Regions from separate parts of the Homo sapiens genome. Here region 2 is linked to region 1. The links are contacts of gene promoters, found by promoter capture Hi-C in blood cells and fetal thymus (Javierre and others, 2016). All regions are on one chromosome and are shown on one strand. The core of a region is centred on a gene start or on the middle of the fragment in contact, and the rest is flanking DNA. Distances in the headings are between cores, read along the strand shown. Region 1 holds the start of LIF (LIF interleukin 6 family cytokine). Region 2 overlaps CASTOR1 (cytosolic arginine sensor for mTORC1 subunit 1).

The links. Contacts are between HindIII fragments. The CHiCAGO score rates a contact against its expected background, and 5 or more counts as called.
Region 2: a fragment that was not itself captured here is called in contact with the fragment with the promoter of LIF in region 1 in 2 of 17 cell types (monocytes and M2 macrophages); the score reaches 5.3 in monocytes.

Annotation. Positions count from the first base shown.
Region 1 is chr22:30,244,444-30,248,855 of GRCh38, reverse strand. LIF (LIF interleukin 6 family cytokine) reads left to right here and starts at 2,097. Exons shown (of 3, transcript NM_002309.5): 1 at 2,097-2,179; 2 at 3,923-4,101. The coding sequence starts at 2,161. It overlaps LIF-AS2 (LIF antisense RNA 2), which reads right to left and starts at 2,646. Exons shown (of 1, transcript NR_148946.1): 1 at 1,863-2,646. RefSeq lists an enhancer at 3,647-4,147. The HindIII fragment of the contact is 10,846 bases long and covers 1-4,269 here.
Region 2 is chr22:30,285,170-30,287,869 of GRCh38, reverse strand. It overlaps CASTOR1 (cytosolic arginine sensor for mTORC1 subunit 1), which reads left to right. Exons shown (of 9, transcript NM_001037666.3): 3 at 310-497; 4 at 583-715; 5 at 922-1,045; 6 at 1,494-1,607; 7 at 1,772-1,854; 8 at 1,944-2,038; 9 at 2,182-2,700. The coding sequence ends at 2,250. Among named protein-coding and RNA genes, the nearest start is that of CASTOR1, 3.0 kb to the left of the region's middle. The HindIII fragment of the contact is 2,999 bases long and covers 1-2,700 here.

The DNA.
Region 1 (4,412 bases), core at 848-3,347:
GGGCTGATGTGGGGTCTGGCTTGCCAGAAGGCATGCAAGGGCCTGGGGGTCCGCTTGGAAGGATGCAGGGGAGACTGGGCAGAATGGTAGATGTAGGGGCAGCTGCAGAACTCTTGAGCCTAATGAGAGACTCAGGCCGGGCGACGGGGGTTTGATGGGTGGAGGCCACAGTGAGCCCCTGGTCACATGGATTTGGGGTCCATGTCAGGAGAGCCAGGCTGAGTCAGGTGGCAGGGGTCTGGGTGATGTGGGATGGGACTGGGGACTGGTCCAGAGCTCACGTGCTCTGAGTGGTCAGGTCCTTGTGCAGGAGATGCTGGGGGAGGTGTAAGAAGAAGGGTTGAGCTGGGGTGTCCTGGGATGTGGGGTTACCTGAGCCAGGCCAGGGCAGGTGAGTCTCCTAGTAGTGTACGCTGACCCCAGAGCAAGTGTATAGGAGCAGTAAGTGCCAAGTGGGGCCCTCCATGGTCCCTCAAAGAAGAGACAAGGTGTGGGGTGAGAGGCAGGAAGGAGGAAGGAGAGCCAGTTCGGGAAGTGCCAGCTGGGATGGGCAGTTTTATCACCTCACATCCGAGGCCCTGCTGGGAGAGAATGGGGGGCAAGAGCGTAGATAAAGCAGGGTGTGTGTGTGGTGGGGAACGGCAGCAGGCACCAGGGCTCGTCCTGGCACGATGAAGGAGGAACCCGTGGCTGGGCAGGTCTGGGATGTGGCAAGAGGCAGGAACTGGGGGCATGGAGGATGGGCGAGGGGGCGGTGGGGGCCCGGGCGAGGCTGCAAGAGCTCCCTGGCCTTGGAAAACCAACTCACACACCTTGATCTCAGGTCAGGGTCAGGCGGAAGGGCTGGGAAGGGGCCACAGGGGACTAAATCATCTCCTGGTACTGGGGGTCCCCTGGCAGCTTTAGGGACGGCATGGCCCCAGACGCGTGGCCATGCTGTCTGGCCGGCATTCCCGCATCTCATAGGGTGTATTTATTTTCACTTTTCTGTTGCATTTCTTGGAGGTGTCCCTGTGCTCATTTTGCCCGGCTCCCCACTGCTCCTTTCTGCCCTTCCTCATTCACAAATCGCCTGGCCTCAGAAGACGCCAGAACATGTGACACTGCCTTAGAGCCTCTAGAAGCACTTTTTGGGGACCTCCATCATTCTCTGAGGCTGGGCTCAAAGGGGCTTCCAAGGCAGGTCTGGAAGGGACCAGCCACTTCTCAGTTTCCCCAACCATCAATCAGCACCCGGAGGAGGAAACTGGGGTACGATTTCGCCAAGCCTCTCTCAGTCCTGCTTCAGAATGGAAATGCTGGACCGCCTTCCCAGAAGCACCTTCCCAGAGTGTCCCGACAGAACTGAGTCAGTCACCCCTACCCCCATGTCTTCCTAGCCCCTTCCCCAGCCTCACAGGTACAGTGGTCAGCAGGGCGAGTGCACTGGTGGTGTCTGGAGGCCTGACCCTCTGGGGCCCTGGGCAACGTGTTCCCCTCGGAGCCCCTTGGGGCCCAGTGGCAATGTGCAGATTGGAGGAGGCTACCTCTGGGGTGGCTTCCAGCGCCCATGTTCAGTTCCACTTTATGACCGTCTAAAGTCCACGCCGGCCCCGGCCCCTCCTCCTGGAGCCTCCTTCTCAGCCAAGCCCTAGCCCTCCTCCTCCCACTGCCCCCCTAAAGCCCCCCAACCAGGGGGCACAGGGGCCAGTCTCCATCTGCTAGTCCAGACTCGCTACCTCCCCAAACCCAGGTGAGTCAGGGCCGTCTGGGGCGCCCACTGCTGGGACCCCTGCTGACTCGGCCAGGGGCCCCCTCCTGGCGATGCCCATCTTCAGACAACTCCCGGGACAAGCCAGGCAGGAAAACCACAGGGCGTTTTGTCGAAGGCTTCATTATAATTTTATCAATCAAATTCTTAGAAGAGGGAAAAAGTCTGTTCTCCCCACCCTCCCCCCTCACTCGTCCCCCCCCTTCACTCTCACTTTCTTCCATTCATAATTTCCTATGATGCACCTCAAACAACTTCCTGGACTGGGGATCCCGGCTAAATATAGCTGTTTCTGTCTTACAACACAGGCTCCAGTATATAAATCAGGCAAATTCCCCATTTGAGCATGAACCTCTGAAAACTGCCGGCATCTGAGGTTTCCTCCAAGGCCCTCTGAAGTGCAGCCCATAATGAAGGTCTTGGCGGCAGGTAAATACACCCGCCCCGCGCCGGCTTCGCGTCCCCGCTGCGGGGCGCGGCGGCAACTTGGGGCGCTTGGCAGCGCGAGCCGGACGCCCACCCGCCGCAGACACACGAACACTTGGGGCGCCCGCGCAGCCACCGGAGGCGCTGGGTGGCGGCCCGGAGCGAGCGCGGGCACATGGTCCCAAGCACCGCACGCCCCGCGGCAGGTTGGCGGCGAGGGAGGGGGCGCCGAGCCTTCCTCCTCCTCCTCTTCTTCCCCCTCTCCTTCTCCTCCTCCTCCTCCTCGCTCCGGACACTCGCTGGCTGCTCTTCCCTCTGCGCTTTCTCCCAGATTCACTCTCCCTCTCTCTTTTTCTTTTCTTTCTTTCTTTCCGCTTTCTCCTTTCCAACCGCGGTCCCGGGCTGCTCCCAGGGAGGGGCGCGGGCGGCGAGCAGCTTGCAAACTCCGGCCTGGGACGGGAGCAGGTGCCGCCTCCATCTGCTGGTGTCTGGAAGCGTGTGGTCTGCGCTAGGTGAGATATAGGGGTGTGGCCCCCCTCCCGCAGCCACCCCGGGGCCTCAGCACTGCCTTGGGATGCTGGGACGAACAGGGGACCCAGGAGAAGTGAACTTGAGGAGGCCCCTGTCCCCGCTGTTCCAGCATGGGGGATCCGGGGGAGGTCTCCAGCCTCACTCGCCCGCTGACCCCGGCCCCCACCATCTTCAGGTGCCCTTCTGCAGAGCCCTGGAAAAGCGTCTAAGGGGGCCTGGGGGGAGTCGGGAGAACAGGCCCCCCTGGGGGAGGGGCAAACCAGGACATGTCGGGACAGCTCCCAGCTCTCCTGTCACCTTTCACTTTCCTTCCTCCCCGCCCACCCGACTGCCTATGACCTTTTGCCTTTTCTCTCTCCTGGTGCACCATTTCCTCTCCCTCCCTGAGCCGGTGTGTGTGTGTTAGGAGGGAGGGGAACCCCTGGGACAAGGGACAGCGGATGAGTCGGGAGAAGGCATGGAGTCAGGGGCTGTCCGGAGCTGGGGGAACAGAGAGTTTTGAATGATGATTTGGGGATGGAGAGTGGGGACAGCCAGGCAGAAATGGGGTGAGCTTGAGTGAGATAGGGGACACTAGGGAAGGAAGAGATAGAGGATGATGGGGGCGGGGGCAGAATTGGGGGCAATTGGCCCAGGGAGCCAGAATCAAGTGGCAGGTTTGGGAGGGAGATGAGGGTCAACCGAGGACTCCTCCCCACTCCCCCATGCCCCGTGGCCCCCATGGGTGCCTGGCTTCGGAGATTTGGGCTGCAATGGGCCAGTGAGTGGGAAGCGCTGCTGAGGAACCTGGGCCACCACGGGAGGTGGGAAGAGAGGGGTCTCCTTTCTCCTGGTGCCTGCTGGGCCTGGGGCCTGGTGCCTTCCAGCCAGAGGGCCAGGGGGCCTTAGGACCTTTGCCTTCCTGAGGGAAAGGGTGGGATGGCTGGGAGTCTCTCCTGGACCCTGCACCCTTTGGGTGGAAATGGCTTGTGTCTTGCCCTCATCTTTACGTCATCCCAGAAGAGAGCAGGGAGAACTAAGGTAGAGAAAGGGAGACAGAGAAACACACGCAGTGACAGAGTGAAGACTAGGCCCCAGGAAGACAGCTGCAGGTGGTGAGGGGGAACCAGGAGTCCTCTCCCATGCGGCCATTGTTGGACCCCCATCCGGTGTGCCATGACCCCAGGCCACCCTTTCCTGCCTTTCTACTCATGGCTTCTTCCTGACTGTCCCCAGGAGTTGTGCCCCTGCTGTTGGTTCTGCACTGGAAACATGGGGCGGGGAGCCCCCTCCCCATCACCCCTGTCAACGCCACCTGTGCCATACGCCACCCATGTCACAACAACCTCATGAACCAGATCAGGAGCCAACTGGCACAGCTCAATGGCAGTGCCAATGCCCTCTTTATTCTCTATGTAAGTTACCCCTGGGATACTGACAGGAGATGGCAGGGAGGGGGCTTGTAAATATCATTAGGGGCTGTCCTGATCTGGGTTGAGGGGACCTTTTGGGGCTGGAAGGAGAGAATGGGGAGAGGGCTTGATTAAACCACCCCCAGACTCCCGCCACTTCCTGCCCAAGCTTCCCCAGGGAAGCTTCCCCAGGGTGCCCAGTTAGCAAGGGGAGAACTGAGTGCAAAGGTGGGGACCTGGCACTTCTTATCTTGTGATTGTCCTGCTGCAGGGAGCGAGGGATGGAGGGGAAATGGGCGTGAGGCACCAGGGAG
Region 2 (2,700 bases), core at 201-2,700, 40 kb before region 1:
TTTACAGATGAGGAAACTGAGACTCAAATCACCCACCCCAGGTCATAAGACAAATTAACAAAGCTGGGATTTGAACCCAGGTCTGTCTGAATCTGGACCTCTGATCTTAAGTGGGAAGTTTCAATGCCACCAGGCCAGCACTTGAAGCCTTTCTCAGTCTTTGCACACATAGGGACTTCAGGAGCCCCAGCCTCCAGACCTGCCCTTACCTTGATGGAGCCCTCCAAGGCACAGAAAGGGAAACTGAGGCTCAGAGAGGGGCAGGGGCCAGCCTTGTAGACCCTGACCTGACATGTCCCCTGCCCACAGAGCTGCCCCCATCTGAGTTCCTGCAAGTAGCTGAGGCCACATGGCTGGTGCTGAACGTGTCGTCTCACAGCGGTGCGGCAGTGCAGGCTGCTGGGGTCACCAAGATCGCCCGTTCGGTCATCGCGCCACTGGCCGAGCACCACGTGTCTGTGCTGATGCTGTCCACTTACCAGACGGACTTCATCCTGGTGAGTTTCCTGCTGGTGCTGATGCAGAGCAGGGTGGATATAGGTACCTGGGAGCCCATGTGATGTGCCATCTGCTGTGGCCCAGGTGCGGGAGCAGGACCTGTCCGTGGTGATCCACACGCTGGCCCAGGAGTTCGACATTTACCGCGAGGTGGGCGGAGAGCCTGTGCCTGTGACGAGGGATGATTCCAGCAATGGCTTTCCCCGCACTCAGCATGGTGAGGGCCGCCCCCTGACACTTGGACTTGGGCAGGGCCTCCTCTTCCCACTGGGTCCCTTCCCTTTTGGGCCCCAGTGGGGCAGGAGGACCCCGGCCAGTTCCTGGATAGCAAGACCTGCCCCTGGCCCACGCCTCTCCCTGACTAGCCACCAGGGGGCGCCCCAGCCCACGGACACCTTTTCACCTGCTGCTGTCCTCCAGCAGGGCCCAGCCCCACGGTGCATCCCATCCAGAGCCCACAGAACCGCTTCTGTGTCCTCACACTGGACCCTGAGACGCTTCCAGCCATCGCCACCACCCTCATAGATGTCCTCTTCTACTCGCACAGGTGGACCTTGGAACTTCGTCTTTGTCCTCACAGCACTGTTCCCTACACTCTGTCCCACCACTTTCCGCCCATCTATCAGTTTTGCACCTCTTGCTTGTCCTCTCTTGGGGTTCCTGGCAGCCCATGATGCTCACTTGTGCTTCACTGATGTTCGGGGAAGGTTCTTGCCCCAAAGCTGGATCCCTTTCCAGTGGGGTCGTCTGAGCCATGCCCTGGTCTGGCCCTCTCACCGTGGAATCCTTTGTTTTTGGCACAGGCTGGGTTCATTGTCCTCCCCCATCCCCACCCACACCTTCCAGAGGGCTGGACCCTTGGGCGGGTAGCAGATATGGCAGAGCCTGCCCAGGCCACCATACCAGCTCCTTCCCAGGGTTCTGGAGGCTGATCGGGAGCAGGGGCAGTAGGCTGGGTGCCTGGTAGAGCCCCTAAACCTCCCATCCCTCCCCAGCACCCCCAAGGAGGCAGCCTCTAGCAGTCCTGAACCCAGCTCCATCACGTTCTTTGCCTTCTCCCTCATCGAGGGTTATATCTCCATTGTCATGGATGCTGAAACACAGAAAAAGTAGGTGACCCCTGACCCCGGGTGGGCCCCAGGCCCCAGCCAGTCCCAGGCAGGGAGGAGGTGGGGCATCAGACTCTGAGGTCAGCAGGTGTACCTGTCCCAGAGCTCACGGTCAGGCAGGGGTGGATGGGGGTGCCCTGCCCATCACCCATCTCCCTCCCCAGGTTCCCCAGTGACCTCCTGCTGACCAGCTCCTCGGGGGAGCTGTGGAGGATGGTGCGCATCGGTGGACAGCCCCTGGGCTTTGGTGAGGGCTGTTCCCGGTGTTGGGGGGCTGGGGAGTGTCTGGGGAGCAACCGGCATGTGCCACATGTGGCCTTCCTCCACCACCCTCAGATGAATGTGGCATCGTGGCACAGATTGCAGGTCCCCTGGCTGCCGCTGACATCTCTGCCTACTACATCAGCACCTTCAACTTCGACCACGCCCTGGTGAGCACCAAGGGCTGGGGCAGAGGGGAGAGTGAGGCCCAGAAATGTGGGCGGCAGGAGGTAGTCTCAGCTGGGCCAGGAAGTCAGGGGTGGCCCTGGCCAGCTTCCGCCTTGACCCTTCCCTCCTGCCCACCTGCCCTCAGGTGCCCGAGGACGGTATCGGCAGCGTCATCGAGGTCCTCCAGCGGCGGCAGGAAGGCCTGGCTTCCTGAGGCCCATGGGCAACAGAGCAGCCTCCCTGCTCTCCCCTCGACCCAGGCTTCCAAAGACTTCTCTAAGCTATTTCCTTAAGCTCTGGAACGAGCCCCCTGTTCTGCTGGGGACCCTCGTTCCGCTCTCTGTATGTAAGCTGCGTGCAGGCACCGGCTTTTACGCGGACACCTGTGTACACTCACAGGTGGAGTGGGCAGGTGCTAGCCTGACTGCGTGTCTGCCCATGCAGGGGAACACGGTGCTCGGGGCTTAAGCCCCCAACCCATCACTCCCTGCGCAGCCTCGGCGTTTGCACAGTCCCTGCCTGAGGCCTGAGCCATTCCCCAAAGGCTTCCTGGGCCAGCTGCCCCGCTGACCTCCGTTCTGCCTCTGGTGGGGTTGCCTTCCCTGGCCAGGTGAGTCCTGACAGTGCCTCTCCCTCCTGGGGCCTCCAAGGAAAGTATTTTGAC